6 separate regions of the Homo sapiens genome follow, and regions 1, 2, 3, 4 and 5 are each linked to region 6. The links are contacts of gene promoters, found by promoter capture Hi-C in blood cells and fetal thymus (Javierre and others, 2016). All regions are on one chromosome and are shown on one strand. Each heading gives the region's core, a stretch centred on a gene start or on the middle of the fragment in contact. The rest is flanking DNA. Distances are from core to core; before and after follow the strand shown.

Region 1 (2,966 bases), core at 104-2,603, 200 kb before region 6:
ATCACAAGTACCTCGAATACATTGGTAAGATGGCACATGACTGGTAGCTTTGCTGTAGAGGAATCTTACCTTGTCATACAAATCAATATGCCTTGTGAAAAATTTTTCAAATGCTTGAATCTTCTCAATCAAAGGAGAGCTATCGCTGTAAACTAATCCAACAAATATGGCATTAGCACAAATAATCACACAGGTACATGCACATTTTTCATGAGACAAAAGCAGCACTATATACATGGTAGATGATTTTTTTCTAATTGCTTTGTATTTTGATTACATTCATATAAGAACTAGTATAGAATGTAAACTTAAGATTCTAAAACAAATTTAGGTTTGCATAATGTGAAATGCAGACAGAAACTCTCTCTCTCTAAAAGCCCCACTATCTGGGAAACTTTGTTTTGCATCTTTGACACCTAATAGGACATGTTAGTTCAGATAATTTAGACAATAAGCTTAAACTAAAAATTATAATAAAGCCAAAGCCAGACACATAAACTAAGCTCTTACTCTGACAGAGCTGAAGACAATCACAATCACAGTCTTTCCTGAGATCAGGAGACAGACCAACACTTGACCCTGGTGGCAAAACTGAAAAGCCTTTTTTTTTTTAACACTCTAAAGTTCTACATTTTCAAATATGTCTCTCACAGAAGAACAGTACAATAAAGTAGTTTGGAAGCACAGATGGTGAAGGCTAAGGCACCTCTTGAACTCCATCTTTAGGACTGTCCAAAGATCACTTATAGTGTTCTGAGCTATCTGCTAGGGGAGCAATGGGAGTGCTGGTGGCTAATACATCCTAAAGGAACAAAAGATCATTCATGAAACAGATTCTATTGATGGAAAAAAACGAACAGATTTCCAATAAAGAAAACATTTGTAAAGTACTCTATTCATTCACAAAATGACTACTGCATGCCTGGTATGGGGCAGGGAGGGTCCTGGACCTCAAACGTCTAGTTTTCCTAAAAAAAAAAAGTATGCGGCTGGGTGCGGTGGCTCACGTCTGGAATCCTAGCACTTTGGGAGGCCGAGGCGGGCGGATAACGAGGTCAGGAGATCAAGACCATCCTAGCTAACACGGTGAAACCCCGTCTCTACTAAAAACAGAAAAAATTAGCCGGGCGTGGTGGCGGGTGCCTGTAGTCCCAGCTACTCGGGAGGCTGAGGCAGGAGAATGGCGTGAACCTGGGAGGCAGAGCTTGCAGTGAGCCAAGATCGCGCCACTGCACTTCAGCCTGGGCAACAGAGCAAGACTCCATCTCAAAAAAAAATAAAAAGTATGCACACACACACACACACACACACACACACACACCCCTCATGAGACATAAGAAACAAATGGGTATTTTAACAGCACAAAAAAGACAGTTCCCTGCACCTATACAGACTGATGTAGGTTAATTGGTATTCCTAATTATCAAAGGGAGATTCCTTACCTGTGTTTCTACACAAAGCTGTATTTGTTATTGTCCCTTGATTTCAGGCCCACTGTTCTACTTCCTGCTCTGCGATGCTATAATTCAGATCTGTACCCTACATGTCTCAGATTCTCTTTAAATTCTGCCAATTGAAGGCACTTTAGAGACGGGAAGGTGGCAGGAAGAGAAAGGAATTTATTCTTGTTTCCAACTCTTTTCAGCATCTCTGCAGCTGCAGAAGATAACGATAGTGCTAGCCTCCAGTTCCAAGCACCACTGAGTCATGCCCCCTCAGTTACCAGTGGCAACCAGCTTCATTTGCCTTAGTGGTCTAAGCACAGCTCTGTAAGGTAGCCTTCAGAAGTCCAAGCATAGCTTTGTAGGGTGCCCCTCAAAAGTCAAAATAACAGCTATGCTGTGACCTCTCCAACCTTTGAATTCCCACATTCTGGTAACCTCAGAACTTCTTTTAGTCTCTTAGCCATAAGGATGGTTGCTGCTTCCTGAATTACTACTTTCTGGGGAGTTACCTCAATATTTCCTTTCTGCTCTTTCAGTCTTCCATTTTTGTATCCAATTTCTTGTATTAAGTCCCCTTTTTGAAATACCTAGTATGGTTTCTGCTTTCCTGACTGATATAAAGTCTAAAATGCTTTTGAAACATAAACATCATTTAATTGTTTGGGTGAACTAAGATTAAAGCAGGTATATGTTAGTAAATGAATTACAGTAATACAAGATGTAGCATCCAAAGACAAGTTAAGAAAATATGATTTATGGTGCTTTTTTGTACTTTTTAAACCCTACCTTCAGAGAAATAAAGCTTCCAGCCTTTATATGGTATGAATCGATCCAATGTTGACTGCATTGACTGTGGGGTCTTTGTTGAAAGCAAAAACTGTGGGGTTTGTTCTGAAAAAAATAAAATACTAGGTTAGTAGAAACAGAGTGAACATTTTTCCAATATGCTTCTCTTTCCAAATGAGACTCTCATTAATAGAGTATCCAAATTAGGGGTTTTAGTAAAAATCTGGGACATCAATGTTCAAATACTTACTAAGGAGTAGCATGAAATAAAAGACAAACTGAAGTATGAGATAAACCGCCTTGTATGATAGACGTGAATTGCTTCCTTAAGTGAAAAAAATTGAACAATCATTGACCTCACCTACCAGAAGTACGTTTTCCTGTGGTTTTACTCAGATCAGGTCTGTGTTCTCTTTCTCTCCATTTTCCTGAGAAGTTCCCACCACCTCTTCCCCTTTTCCAGCTTTGAAATCTTCCTCGTCCAAATCCTCTGCCTCTATACTCTCCATTCATCTCTCCTAAAAGATAGATATTAAAAAGGTCTTCACCAAAACTGTAAGGAAAATAGTGCTCTTAAAAATGTATTAATAAAAAGGGAAAAATTAATGTATTCTAGGTTCAAGAGTAGCAAACAGGCTTGCAAAGTTGTACAGCTATGATACAAGACCCAAATATTCTGCAGTTAAGTTTCTAATCTCTATCGCTTTTTAAGGTATACCATAATAGTTTAATAAC
Region 2 (2,974 bases), core at 313-2,812, 250 kb before region 6:
TTTTAAGGTCACCTGATTAGCCATCTTAATTTCCCCTTGCTATGTAACCTAACACATTCACAGGTTCTGGGCATTAGGATGTGATGTCTTGCAGGGTGGGTACTATTCTGCCTAGCAAACACGTGAATGCAGTGTTCCGAGGTGTTTCTCAGGACTTACAAGAGTCACTTTAATACTAAAGATAATATACATTCTCTAAGGAAGAGGAGTTTGCAGACTATCCAGTGTTTTCAATATATCTAGATGTTTCAACCTGAGGAAGCTGATTACTATATATATATATATGGAGAGAAAGAGAATATATATACACTCCATAGAGTATATATACACTATATATATATACTGTACTCTCTAGAGTATATAGACTATATATAGTGTATATATAGAGTATATATACTCTATACATATCTGTATAGTATATATATACACTCTATAGTGTATATATATACTGTAGAGTATATAGTATATATAATATATAGTATATATAATATATATACTTTATAGAGTGTATACTCTAGAGTGTGTATACTCTAGTGTATATATATATACACACTAGTATATATACTGTATATGGAGTGTATATATATACTCTATATAGTGTGTGTGTGTGTGTATATATATACACATATATACTCTCTCTATATATATGACATGTTGAAATTACTATACATTTCTAGAAGCAAAGACTAAGAGTCTGTAGTCCCAAGGAATTATTCAGTGACTTTGCAAGTCTATGTACTAAGAATAATTCTGATTTAAATGTCAGAATCTGGCTCAGTTTTTGTTTTAACCTTTTTTTTAAAATTTTTAATCAGTGTTATGTATACACATGGTAAGTAACTCCATGGTATAGAAAAACTGATGATGGAATTCAATAGGTGCACTCTGCCTTTCCATTCCCAAGCCCACGCTCTAGAGCAAGCCTGGTATAGCTTTTGTTTTCAGTTCTTCTGAGGGTTAAATAAAACGAGTAGGTAGTTTTGTGAATTAATATTGCCTTATAATTTTAAGTATAGTACATGACCCAGGTGGAGTGCTTTAGATACAGATGTATGAGTGATTAGTTGCAGGAAACACAAACTACTGTAGCTAGCCACATTTAAAAGGACTGTAAAACAGGGAACTGGATGCTTGCAATATTGTCACAAGGGCTAGGAGTGGGTTCCATACTGGGTCTCCAGAATTAACTCCCAGAAAAACACTGCAGGTCTGTCTGGCTTGCCAGAGGCGCTGCTACCCCACAATAATGAGAAAGGTGAAGAATCAGGGTTGCATCCACCACGCCACTTGCCTCAACAACTGACTGCAAGAATTCTGCTGCAGGGAAATTAAATGTCTCCTCAACCACACATGCCACCAGAACACAAGCAAGAGGAAGATGGCTCTCTCCTCAGTTCTGCATTCCAAATCTCACACATGGGTGTCTGATCAGTGGAACCCAATTCACATCTGGAAATCTACCTGCAAAGGGAGTCTGGGAAATGTGGTTATTTTCTCACCTTCCAGCCCCTGCATTATAGGAAGGCACACTAGGAGAGCAGAATGGACACTGAATACCAAATCACCGTATCATTGTATCTACATTTATCCACCTCTTTGGCTAGTCAATATCCATACCATTGTTTATGAATTCAATGCATTCATAAACAATATATGAATATTGTTTAATATTCTTCTGTATAACAACAGCAACTATAACATGCTAATGTAAGTACGATATTTCCCTTCTTTATCAAAGGAGAGCTATAAAGATCCATCAATCACAGGGTGGTGTTTATTCCTCTTCTCGTTCAGTTATACCCTCACCTTGATATCTCTATCCTAAAAATGAAATGATCAAGTTGATTACCACCAATACAATTTACTTAACACAATATTGGAAAAGAGAGGAGGCTGGGCATGGTGGCTCACACCTGTAGTCTCAGCTACTCAGGAAGCCCTGGAGTTTGAGACCAGCTTGGGCAACAAAGGAAGACCTCATCTCTACTAAAAATCAAAATTAGCTGGGCATGGTGTTGCATTCCTGTAGTTCCAGCTACTCAGGAGGCTGAGGTAGGAGGATTGCTTGAGCCCAGGAGATCACGGCTTGATCATGTCACTGCACTCCAGCCTGGGCGACAGAACAAGACCCCCATCTCTTAAAATTTCATCTCGCAGCCAGGTGTAGTGGTGCATGCCTGTAGTCTCAGCTATTCAGGAGGCTGAGGTGGGAGGACTGCTTGAGCTGAGTAGTTCAAGTCCATACTGGACAACATGGCAAGACCACCATCTCTTGAAAAAGAAACTTTTGGCTGGGCACAATGGCTCACGCCTGTAATCCCGGCACTTTTTGGGAGACCGAGGCAGGCAATCACCTGAGTTCGGGAGTTAAAAACCAGCCTCACCAACATGGAGAAACCCCGTCTCTACTAAAAATACAAAATTAGCCATGGTGGCACATGCCTATAATCCCAGCTACTTGGGAGGCTGAGGCAGGAGAAACGCTTGAACCCAGGAGGCGGAGGTTGCGGTGAACCAAGATCGCGCCACTGTACTCCAGCCTGAGCAAAAAGAGCAAAACTCTGTCTCAAAAAAAAAAAAAAAAGAAAAAAGAAAAAAAAAGAAACTTTCATGATGTAATGTTTTCTTGCTTTGCATGTTTCTGTTCTGACATTTGTACTTAGGATTTGTTTTAATCAGCAATGGTGACACAGAAACAATTGCCTATGGAAGATTACTTTCATCTCCCAAGAGGGCGTGCCATGCCACACCAGGCCACATGAGGAAACACCAAAGTCAGTCAGGCAGTAAAGAAGCAAGTGAAAAGCCTAGGCCAGAGCTTTGTTGCTACAGTGGTTGAAAGGTGTGGGGACACCCACTATTGGGCAGGAAGTGAAATACTATATGTTGGGGTTTGTGGTTGGAGGGACTGTAATGTGATGTTTGCACACCCATAAAAGCTGGATTGTAAGGGAAAGCTAAACAACTTTTGTTG
Region 3 (2,843 bases), core at 1-2,500, 230 kb after region 6:
AGCTTCTCTCATATTATACCCATCCCCCAATGACCCACATCTGCCAGCTCGATTTCAAGGCAGCCTGCTGTCTTCCCTTCTGTTCTGTAAGTGGCTAGATCTCAGGATTATTACATCATAATTTGTTGCAACAATTCGGGTCACAGTTGTCTTTGCTCTAAGGCAATGCTTTTCCTTCCTTCCTTCCTTCCTTCCTTCCTTCCTTCCTTCCTTCCTTCCTTCTTTCCTCCCTCCCTTCCTCTCTTTCTTTTCTTTTCTTTTTTCTTTTTTTTTTTGACAGGGTCTTGCTCTGTTGCCCCAGGCTGGAGCACAGTGGCATGATCTTGGCTGACTGCAACCTCTGCCTCCTGGGCTCAGGCCTCCCGAGTAGCTGGGACCACAGGCATGCACCACTACACCTGGCTAATTTTTGTATTTTCTGTAGAGATGGGGTTTTGCCATGTTGTCAAGGCTATGGCAGTGCTTTTCTGGTGAATGTTCTCCATAAGCCTTGCTTTGCTTTTTCTTTTCTTTTCAATTCTTCTTTTTGTATGATTTTTGTACTTCTCTCCAGGTCATTCTTTCTTGCTAACTTTTATGTCTGAATGTGGCAAGTTTTTCCTAAGTTGATTTTAGCAGAAAGCTTGTCTAGAGAAAGATGAAGAAGCACTGTGGTCCAGGTTCTGATGAATTATCATGGGAAGCCAAGGTCTCTGTCTGTGAGTTTTTTTCTCCATTAAAAAAAAAATAAAATATAGGACTGGGAGAAGTGGCTTACACCTGTAATCCCAGTACTTTGGGAGGCCGAGGCAGGAGGATTACTTGAGACCAGGAGTTTGAGAACAGCCTGGGCAATAGAGCAAGACCCTCATCTCTCCAAAAAATAAAAGTAGCCAGTTATGGTGGTGCATGCCTGGAGTCCTAGCTATTCAGGAGACTGAAGCAGGAGGATCACTTGAGCCCAAAAGTTTGAGACCAGCCTGGGCAACATAGGGAGACCCTGTCTCTACAAAATAAAGGTTAAAAAAAAATGAGGCTGGGCATGGTGGCTCATGCCTGTAATCCCAGCGCTTTGGGAGGCCAAGGCAAATGGATCACTTGAGGCCAAGAGTTCGAGTCAAGCCTGGCCAACATGGTGAAACCCCATCTCTATTAACAATACAAAAATTAGGCCAGGTGCGATGGCTCACGCCTGTAATCCCAGCATTTTGGAAGACCAAGGCAGGCGGATCACAAGGTCAGGAGTTCAAGACCAGCATGATCAACATGGTGAAAACCTGTCTCTACTAAAAAATACAAAAATTAGCTGGTCGTGGTGGCACGCACCTGTAATCCCAGCTACTCAGGAGGCTGAGGCAGGAGAATTACTTGAACCTGGGAGGTGGAGGTTGCAGTGAGCTGAGATCATGCCATTGCACTCCAGCCTGGGCAACAGAGTGAGACTCTGTCTCAAAAAAAAAAAAAAAAAAAATTGAAATGAGTCGCGTATGGTGGCACATACCTGTGGTACCAGCTACTTGGAATGTTGAGGTGAGAGGATCACTTGGGTCCGGAAGGTCAACGCTGCAGTGAATTGTGATAGCACCACTGCACTCCAGCCTGGGCGATGGAGAGAAAAACCTTGTCTCTAAAAAAAAAAAGAAATACAGTAGCCAACATGAAAGTACATATAAACACATATATGTTATGCAGAAAGAGAACTAACTCCAGAACTCATCCCAGTGTAGCCATTGCTCAGCTCCAGAAACAAACTTCTGTGATTATTTTTGCAGACCTCTCTGTACCCACCTTGGCAACCACTATCCAGAATTTTATGTTTTTCAATCAATTGCCTTTCTTTGTAGTCTGCTTCAATTCTTTGTATTTGCACAGATTACATGGAATAGTTTTGCAAGCTTTTTATGCCCTACTGTTCTTCTGGATCTCCACACCTTGTTTGTGACTTTTCTGCATGTTGGAGCATGGAGCCTGTGCAGTATTCCACTGTAGTGGCTGTAGCGCATATCATTTCTCCATTCTTCTGTTAATGTACATTTGGATTGCTTTCAGTTTTGCTGCCTTGATCAATATTTACCTGTCTTCCAGGACACATGCGCAAAGTGCTATGTAGTAGTGGAATTGCAGGGCAAGAGTTGCATGTTCAACTTTATTGGATAAGGCCAAACTGTTTTCCAAAGTGGCCATACTAATTTGGACATTTGCCCGCCACCCCCATCCCAGTGAAAACAGGTTCCTCCTATTCTACTTCCTTGCAAATACTTTGGATTCTTGCATTAATATTAACTCTTCACTTTTTACTCAGTGACTGGTAACTGTAGGGCTATTGATAGGAATACATCTCTCCTTCCTCCTCCATCAAAATGACTATCTTTCATGATGCTGTTACCAGCGGTGAATCCATATGGATCTGCAGCAACTAAATTCCTGCCTCCTTGATGGAAGGAATTCATCTGAGTGGCAGAAGGCAGAGTGAGCAACCAAGGCAAGTTTTAGAGCAGGAGTGAAAGTCTATTAAAAAGTTTTAGAGCGGGATGAAAGGAAGTAAAGTACACTTGGAAAAGGGCCAAGCAGGAAACTTGAGAGATTGCCCTTTGACTTGGGGTTTTGTACATTGGCATGATTCTGGAGGGTTGTGTCTCTCTTTCCCTTATTCTTCCCTTGGGGTGGGATATCCCCATGCAGAGTGGCCTACCAGCACTTGGGAGGGTCTGCATGCACAGTGTGTTTACTGAAGTTGTATGCATGCTCACTTGAAGTGTTTTTCACTTACCAGTGGAATGTTCCTAGAGGAAGGTCATATACCAGTTAAACTCTGCCATTTTGCCTCTTAGTAGGCATGCTTGAGCTCATTCACCCAACTCCTG
Region 4 (2,753 bases), core at 185-2,684, 210 kb after region 6:
GTCCCGCTCAGGTGCAGCCTCCTCCCTAAAGCTCATCTCAGCTTTTGATCTGAATGATGATGGAAACATGCAGACAGCCTCTCAGTCTTACTATTTAATGTTGTAGCTGGGAAAAAACCCAGAGAGGTTAACTGATATACTGGGTTGGGACTAGGATGTGGGTTTTGTGACTCTGAATCCCATGTTCTCAAACTACGCTGCCTTCCGAAGTCTGGCATTTGTTAGCTCATGCTTCCTTGTAGTCCAGCTTCTTATGTGCCTGTTATATTCTCCAGTAAGATTGTAAGCCCCTTAAGGGCAGGGACGTCTTTGCATCTCTAGCACTGCTATAGTGTTCTATCCTTAGTTATGAACTAGATAAATAAATGGTGGTGGCAACAATCCTAGTTTCCTAACTCAGATTGTTTCACGATAAACACAGTTTTGTATGGCATGCTTGGCCATAATGTCTGGAGTATGTGTGTGCTCACATATGCGTGTGTGTGTTTGCATGGGTTTGTATGTTTACCAATGGAGTTCTCTGTCCTGGTTGCTTGGAGTCATGTATTTGATGGATTATGCTAAAACCAATTTTTTGCTCCATGCAGACTGAGGAGAAATACAGGGATAGTTATTCCATTTAAGTGGAAGAAGAAGGTACAGTTTTTCCCCCAGGCCTGGTTGCCTCTTCCTGGGACAGCACACCTAAGTCCCGCAGTTGGTGGACTGGTAGTGAAAAGGGCGCTGCCTTGGATAGGAATTGTGTGGCCTGGGGCAGGTCGCCTCATTAGTCCTGGTGGACACTCATTGCCCTTTCTGCCTAGGCTCGCTCTCTATGCCTCTGACTAAATTCTGCCTCTCACATTATTACTGGCTTGGTACTCTAGGCTGATAATGGAGTCCTATTAATTGAGATTTGGATACAGTTGATTTATTCCTTTGCATTTTAGTTTTGGATCATGTATTTTTGGGGTAGAAAGCAAAGTATTTGTATTGGAAATACTGCATGATTTTGGCACTCATGATTGGAAACTCATTCCAACATGACCTGTTAGTGAGCTTGTACAACTTGAGAAGTAGGTTTGAGGTTTTTAAAATGCAAGAGACCATATGATGAAGACTACCATGCAAATGTATGTGGAGATGAGGAGGGGAGATGATAGGCTGGAACAGGTGGAGACTTCATAGAGTTCTCAAGCTCTTACAGATAGAGGTACAGGTCAAGGGAGTTGTGAAACCAGTTTGGGTGGCAGTCTGCATAAAGTCAGAGGCCAGGGTCATATTCGTGGTGTGTTCAGGAGGAATGAAGGAGCCATTTTGACAATGGAGAATATATTGTGAATGCCAGAGAGAAGCTTAGCATGGTATAGGAGATAAAAGTTAATGACTGTTAAGAAGGGAAATGACATGAAAGTCAAGTGTTTAAAAGTAATGAGGAAAGTAATATTAGTATAGGAATAATAAGAGGGATACTATAATTTATCTAGTCCTCTACTAAATTTACTTAAACATGAAAATAGAAATGTGGGTAGGATGGGTGAACTTCTGAAGCTTACTTGCAAAGCCAAACTACTTAATTTAACAGGAAGAAAGCTATAAAAGCTCAGCAAAAGTTCGGTGGCATCTCACAGTTTTAAATGTATCTCTCTGCAGACCAGACCTCTCAAATAAGTTCTAGATTCATACATCCAACTGTGTCCCCATCTCCACTTTAAGGTCTAATAAGCATCTCGCACTTAACATACCTCAACAGAGCTCTTCCTTCCTCCTTCCTTCTACCAAACCTGCTCCCATTCCACCTCCTCCCAAGTTCTGTCTCAGTGTGTGGTACCTGGGAGTCATCCATGCGATTAGTATAGCTTTATGTTATGTGTGTTAGGGTAGTTGCTCAATATTTTTAAATAACTTTTAAAATAACTTTTAAATATTTTAAAATAACTTGATACTTTATCAAATGCCAGAAGAGTTCGCTTGAGAGTCTGATCAGTGTTGGACTAATTTGCTACATTAAGAATATAGCAGGGGCCGGGCGCAGTGGCTCCTGCCTGTAATCCCAGCACTTTGGGAGGCTGATCACCTGAGGTCAGGAGTTCGAGACCAGCCTGGCCAACATGGTCAAACCCCATCTCTACTAAAAATATAAAATTGGCCGGGCATGGTGGCGGGAGCCTGTAATCCCAGCTATTCGAGAGGCTGAGGCAGGAGAATCACTTGATCCTGGAAGGTGGAGGTTGCAGTGAGCCGAGATCACGTCACTGCACTCCAGCCTGGGTGAAAAAACTAAAATTTGTTTGGAGAGGCAAAGGAACTAGAATAGCTAAAAACAATTTTGAGCAAGAAGCAAGTGGGAGGAATCACTCTACCTGATTTTAAAACTTACGTAACTACAGGAATCAAAACTGGTACCGGCGGAAGGATAGATACATAGATCAGTGGCCTAGAATAGAAAAATCCACACAAGCACAGCCAAATGCTTTTTGACAAACATGCAAAGGCAATTCAATGAAGGATTGAAAGAAGGATGGTCTTTTTAAGAAATGATGCTGGAGCGGCCAGGCGTGGTGGCTCACGCCTGTAATCCCAGCACTTTGGGAGGCCGAGGTGGGTGGATCACTTGAGGTCAGGGGTTCGAGACCAGCCTGGCCAACATGGCAAAATCCCATCTCTACTAAAAATACAAAAATTAGTGGTGGCATGCGTCTGTAATCCCAGCTACTTAGGAGGCTAAGGCATGAGAATCGCTTGAACCTGGAAGGCGGAGGTTGCAGTGAGCC
Region 5 (2,917 bases), core at 83-2,582, 190 kb after region 6:
ATTCCCAGGAAAAAAATTTTAAATTGTGATACAGGTTTGACAGCCTTTTAGTCAAATAAGTTAAAACACACACGCAAACTCATTTACTCACTTTGCCATTATAATTCAATCACAAAGAAATTTTGGCCAGGCGTGGTGGCTTACGCCTGTAATCCCAGCACTTTGGGAGGCCGAGGCAGGTGGATCACGAGGTCAGGGGATCAAGATCATCCTGGCTAACATGTGAAACCCCGTCTCTATTAAAAATAAAAAATTAGCCTGGTGTGGTGGCGGGTGCCTGTAGTCCCAGCTACTCGGGAGGCTGAGGCAGCAGAATGGCGTGAACTCAGGAGGCGGAGCTTGCAGTGAGCCGAGATCGCGCCACTGCACTCCAGCCTGGATGACAGAGCGAGACTCCGTCTCAAAAAAAAAAAAAAGAAATTTTAACGCCAAAATAATACCAAATATAATCTCATTATATAGACACTTTTCTGGCAAATTTGCCTTTTAGCAATCTCAACACTAATATATTGTCCTAGTCTTTCTCATTTTGCATTAGTCCAGCAAAAATATGACAGATACGTTAAATAAGTCTTTAGATATAGGAGAAAATTAAAAAAGTCCCACACAAAATTGAATACAAACTGTTTTAGATGCTGTACTTTACATGCAGCTGGTTAAGAGTAGGCCCAGAGCTAGATGCCAGGTCACCAGACTCCTGGGCTGTGTTCTTACCACTATATTATTCTGTTTGTATGCATTTATTTGCTGTTAAAAATTAAATACCATATGTGCTATACATGTTCTTTGATACCTAAAATTTTGAAGTATCTAAAATAATCTGCCGGGCACAGTGGCTCACGCCTGTAATCCCAGCACTTCTGGAGGCCAAGGCAGGTGGATCACCTGAGGTCAGGAGTTTCAGACTGGCCTAGTCAACATGGTGAAACCCATCACTACTAAAATACAAAAAATTAGCCAGGCGTGGTGGCAGGCACCTGTAATCCCAGCTACTTGGGAGGCTGAGGCAGGAGAATTGCTTGAACCCCAGAGGTGGAGGTTGCAGTGAACTGAGATTGTGCCACTGTGCTCCAGCCTGGGTGACAGAGTGAGACTATGCCTCAAAAATAATAATAATATAACATAATCTCTGTCAAATTCATTTTGCCCTGAGCATATTTATGTATATGTCTGGGCTTCATGTTTGTTTAAGACTGAACAAGTCCGTTCTTTGGAGGTTACTAACCAAGTTTCATATTTTCAATGTCATTTTCTAGTTAAAACTGCCAAAATAATCTGATGGCAAAGTGTCTAGATAATTTAGTTTAGATACACTGATAGCATTTGTCATTTATATAAATTATAACTTTTTTGATTTATGAGCTGTAGCATAATGTTTTCATTTTGGGGATACATCTTTTCAGGAAGTTATGGGATTTGTTTAGCATCATCACCTTCAAAACAATCTAAACATCATGGTTTTTCATAGATTTTAGGCAAGTAGATTGACATCCCCAAATGCAGTGTAGAATACATGACAAATGTCTTGAATTCATGATGTTGCCTATTGTGTTAGAGTTCACTTTGGATGTTTACTAGTAATGGCGAAAAGGATTTGAGGTTAAGGACCATCTTTGTGTTTGTCAGTTATCACAGACAGTGCCTGAGACTCCTGCTTTTGCTGCTTAATTTCTTTTGACCTTATTTAACATAATCATCTACCAGGTTGTCACTTTGAGTATGACAAAATATGTTTGTGCATTATGCACAAAACATTTTATTGCTACTAATGATAAATTCTTATTATTTTTAGTAATAATTGTATTTTTTTTGTTTTCTTATTCTGCTATCCATCTCATCAAAAACAAAATTTACCAACAAACAAAACTGTAGGTTTTAGAGTCTTTGCCAGAAGATGTAGGGTTTAACATTGAAATAAAATGGATCTGCCAGCAAAGGGTAAGTAATTCTCTATGCAGCACATTCTATACTCTCTATGCCTATCTAAAAAATTCTTTCATTCCTGTCTTTGTATTTTAATGGAATAAGCTAAATTGAAATCTCATTGTGGCTTCCTCCACCAAGCACAATGCTTATTGGACCCTTTAAATAAAACATATCTTGCATTCATGCTAGTATGTGAGTATTTCAAATTAATGATGAATATTGTAGAAATTTCAGTTTACATGTGTCTTGTGTGAACAATATGGTGGTTTTGGGGAGATACTTATAAAGTGGATAGTCACATCTCTTGGATTTAGTTTTTACTTTCTTATTCCCATATAAGAATGTTTTAAATAATTTTCTAAGCAGTTTTCTGTTGTTAACAGTAGCTAGTAATAATTATTCAGGAAAAAAATTTCTGCAATTGTTTTAAATCACTTACAAATTTAGTCATTTTTTTGTTCAACAAATATTTTTTGAAAAGCTGCTATGGACCAGGCATTTTCCAAGTGCTCGGGACAAGTAGTCCACAAAAGAGAATAAGGCCTTGTCTTCCTGGGACTTATATTTCAGTTGTGGAAAACAATTAGCTAACTATTGAATATATCAGAGAGAATATGTGCAGATTGATGGGATGCATTGCAAGGGGCTTGGGGTAGTAGAGTGTGGGGTGTTGAAAGTAGTTAATTCAGATGTCATGATTGGGCATTGAGCAATACCCTTGAATTTGTTTTGGTCAGAATAATCTGTAATTGCCCTCATTATGCTGTTTGTGACAAGCTGGTCCTCATTAATGTAGTGAATTCTCGACTAAGGTTTCCCTAATAATGTGATTTTTAGTTTTCTGAGCTTCTAGAATTATTTCAGTGACTAATACTTAAAACATTTAACATTTGAATGTCAATAGAGCTGGCTTGGTGTCTTGGCTATATTTATTGAGTTACTTTAATTAATTTTTGGTTACTTGATATGCCCAAGACCCAAAGAATGAGAC
Region 6 (2,885 bases), core at 60-2,559:
AATAAACCGCTTTAAAATAGTTTACAGAGTTTTATTTATTTGCTAACAGTCTGACACATGATACAAAGACAAGCTTTGAAAATATTATACATAGTATAAGAAGATAGCCGGGCGTGGTGGCTCACACCTGTAATCTCAGCACTTTGAGAGGCTGAGGCAGGTTGATCAAGAGCTGAGGAGTTCAAGACCAGCCTGGCCAAGATGGTGAAACCTCGTCTCTACTAAAAATACAAAAATTAGTCGAACGTGGTGGCAGGCGCCTGTAGTCCCAGCTACTCGGGAGGCTCAGGCAGGAGACTAGCTTGAACCTGGGCAGCAGAGGTTGCAGTGAGCCAAGATCGTGCCACTATACTCCAGCCTGGGCTACAGAGTGAGAGTCATGAGACTCCGTTTAAAAAAAGAACAAAAGTCATGAAAGAAGCTAGTCACAAAAACATTGACATTATACTTAATGAAAGAAGCCAGCTGCACTGTATGATTTCATTTATATCAAACGTGCGAATTGGCAAGGCTATACAGACAGAAAGTATACTAGCAATTGTCTAGGACTTGAGGCGGAGTGGACGTGGTGAATGTAGAATGACTGCTACTGGAGGCAGGATTTTTCTTTGGAGTGATGAAAGTATTCTAAAATGAGATCACAGTAATAGATGCACAATTCTGTCAACAACAACAAAAAAACCCTTAATGTTACCCTTTATTATTTATTTTTGGGTACGTTGTCTTGCTCTGTCTTCCAGGCTGGAGTGCAGTGGCGCGATCTGGGCTCACTGCAGCCTGGAACTCCGGGGCACAAGCGATTCTCCCACCTCAGTCTCCTGAGCAGCTGGAACTACAGGCGAATGCCACTATGCTAGGCTTGATTTTTTTTTACGCTTTAAATGGGCAAATTTTACTTAGTAGGTGAATAGAAATTTCCCAAGAAAGCTGTTTTTTTGTTTGTTGGTTTTTTAGCAGAACCTCCTGAAGTGGCAGGTCACTGAAAAAATTTAAAAAAAAACAACAAAACCGAAGCTTATCCATACTCACTATCCACAAATTCCCAAAATTCCCCAAAGCACAGGCTGCAGACACCGTGTGTTGGGGCGGAAGGGGCGGGGAGCTAGCAGGAAATCCTGACATGCCTAGGAAAGCCTCCATAACTTCCTAATTGAGAGAGAACGATCAGATGCATTGCTGTGACCCCCGCCCCCACCACTCCAACCCCCCCCCATCCCATCCCGCGCTTACCTCTCCTCCAAAGCACTCCAGAAAACTGAGGAGAAAAGCCGCCAAGCCCCCCGACACACTCACCATCCGCAACCGGAACGCGGAAGCAATGGCGCCATCTTTTTTATGGGAAATGTGAGGTTCGAAGGAAGTCACCGGAGCCATCCTTACTGCGGGCAGTGAAGGGCAATGGAAGCCGGTCGCGGCCATGTTGACTGAGGCTTTTGGCCTGTCAATGAGGCTTGCCACATGTGGCTATTTTGGGCAATTTCCTGAGGAGGCTTGTCGATAAATGTGCTTGGTAAACCCTAAGGGAACAGAAAAAATATTCAAAAATTTAAATGTTGGCCGGGAGCGGTGGCTTACGCCTGTAGTCCCAGCACTTTGGGAGGCTGAGACGGATCACTTGAGGCCAGGAGTTTGAGACCAGCCTGGGCAACATAGGGAGACACTGTCTCTACAAAAAAAATTTTTTTTTAATTAGCGAGGCATGGTGGCACATGTCTGTAGGCCCAGGTAGTTGGGGGGCTGAGGTGGGAGAATTGCTTGAGCCTGAGAGGTCAAGGCTGCAGTTGGCCATGTTCTTGCCACTGCAGTCCAGCCTGGGCAACAGAGCTAGACCTTGCCTTTTAAAAAAAAAAATTCGTCTGGGCTCAGTGGCTCACGCCTGTAATCCCAGCACTTTGGTAGGCCGAGGCAGGAGGATCACCTGAGGTCGGGAGTTCGAGACCAGCCTTACCAACAGAGAAACCCTGTCTCTACTAAAAATACAAAATTAGCTGGGTGTGGTGGTGCAGCCTGTAATCGCAGCTACCCGGGAGACTAAGGCAGGAGAATCGCTTGAACCCAGAAGGTGGAGGTTGTGGTGAGCCAAGATCGTGCCATTGCACTCCAGCCTGGGCAACGAGAGCGAAACTCCGTCTCAAAAAAAAAAATAAATAAAATTCAATGTCTTGGAGAGGGTGGGGTGGCATGCCCCTGTAATCCCACTGCTTTGGGAGGCCAAGATGGGAGGATTACTTGAGGCAAGGAGTTCAAGACCCACCTGGGCAACACAGTGGAGACCTTGTCTCTACAAAATGGTTTTGTTTTTTTTTTTTTGAGACGGAGTCTCGCTCTGTTGCCCAGGCTGGAGTGCGGTGGCGCCATCTCGGCTCACTGCAAGCTCCGCCTCCCGGGTTCACGCCATTCTCCTGCCTCAGCCTCCCAAGTAGCTGGGACTACAGGCGCCCGCTACCACGCCCGGCTAATTTTTTGTATTTTTAGTAGAGACGGGGTTTCACCGTGTTAGCCAGGATGGTCTCGATCTCCTGGCCTCGTGATCCGCCTGCCTGGGCCTCCCAAAGTGCTGGGATTACAGGCGTGAGCCACCGTGCCCGGCCTACAAAATGGTTTTAATAAATAAATAAATAAACTTGAATGTCTACATTTTAAAAATATGAAAAGTAGAAATTAAAGATGAGGATGAAAATATTGTAATATTCTGATGCATGCAGATAACTACATAACTGCCACAACTGCAGGACCACAAAAAAGAGACTGTCTAAAGACAAAATTACAAAATTAAGATTTAGCTTAAAGATCTAATTGGCTTTTGTTTACAATTCTAGAATCAGGCAGCATCTCATTCTATAAGATTGAATGTTCCAATGAGCTGAGCAGACAAGGTTAGCTTC

The links. Contacts are between HindIII fragments. The CHiCAGO score rates a contact against its expected background, and 5 or more counts as called.
Region 1: a fragment that was not itself captured here is called in contact with the fragment with the promoter of SHLD1 in region 6 in 4 of 17 cell types (naive CD4 T cells, activated CD4 T cells, fetal thymus and 1 more); the score reaches 12.3 in naive CD4 T cells.
Region 2: a fragment that was not itself captured here is called in contact with the fragment with the promoter of SHLD1 in region 6 in 1 of 17 cell types (naive CD4 T cells); the score reaches 5.6 in naive CD4 T cells.
Region 3: a contact is called between a fragment that was not itself captured here and the fragment with the promoter of SHLD1 in region 6, in 1 of 17 cell types (monocytes). The highest score is 5.1, in monocytes.
Region 4: a fragment that was not itself captured here is called in contact with the fragment with the promoter of SHLD1 in region 6 in 10 of 17 cell types (activated CD4 T cells, monocytes, total CD8 T cells and 7 more); the score reaches 8.9 in activated CD4 T cells.
Region 5: a contact is called between a fragment that was not itself captured here and the fragment with the promoter of SHLD1 in region 6, in 9 of 17 cell types (naive CD8 T cells, activated CD4 T cells, naive CD4 T cells and 6 more). The highest score is 11.3, in naive CD8 T cells.

Annotation. Positions count from the first base shown.
Region 1 is chr20:5,951,794-5,954,759 of GRCh38, reverse strand. It overlaps MCM8 (minichromosome maintenance 8 homologous recombination repair factor), which reads right to left. Exons shown (of 19, transcript NM_032485.6): 2 at 2,597-2,749; 3 at 2,232-2,336; 4 at 70-152. The coding sequence starts at 2,744. Among named protein-coding and RNA genes, the nearest start is that of MCM8, 2.6 kb to the right of the region's middle. The HindIII fragment of the contact is 1,792 bases long and covers 458-2,249 here.
Region 2 is chr20:5,996,796-5,999,769 of GRCh38, reverse strand. It overlaps MCM8 (minichromosome maintenance 8 homologous recombination repair factor), which reads right to left. Exons shown (of 19, transcript NM_032485.6): 19 at 793-2,974. All of the region lies in intron 3 of MCM8-AS1 (MCM8 antisense RNA 1), which reads left to right. Among named protein-coding and RNA genes, the nearest start is that of MCM8-AS1, 7.5 kb to the left of the region's middle. The HindIII fragment of the contact is 5,698 bases long and covers 1-2,974 here.
Region 3 is chr20:5,522,326-5,525,168 of GRCh38, reverse strand. No RefSeq gene overlaps it. Among named protein-coding and RNA genes, the nearest start is that of LINC01729, 14 kb to the right of the region's middle. The HindIII fragment of the contact is 1,252 bases long and covers 625-1,876 here.
Region 4 is chr20:5,542,067-5,544,819 of GRCh38, reverse strand. GPCPD1 (glycerophosphocholine phosphodiesterase 1) reads left to right here. Exons shown (of 20, transcript NM_019593.5): 20 at 1-381. Among named protein-coding and RNA genes, the nearest start is that of LINC01729, 33 kb to the right of the region's middle. The HindIII fragment of the contact is 196 bases long and covers 1,337-1,532 here.
Region 5 is chr20:5,560,486-5,563,402 of GRCh38, reverse strand. GPCPD1 (glycerophosphocholine phosphodiesterase 1) reads left to right here. Exons shown (of 20, transcript NM_019593.5): 16 at 1,873-1,938. Among named protein-coding and RNA genes, the nearest start is that of GPCPD1, 49 kb to the left of the region's middle. The HindIII fragment of the contact is 8,610 bases long and covers 1-2,917 here.
Region 6 is chr20:5,748,825-5,751,709 of GRCh38, reverse strand. SHLD1 (shieldin complex subunit 1) reads right to left here and starts at 1,309. Exons shown (of 3, transcript NM_152504.4): 1 at 1,231-1,309. RefSeq lists an enhancer at 1,434-1,483. The HindIII fragment of the contact is 6,647 bases long and covers 1,017-2,885 here.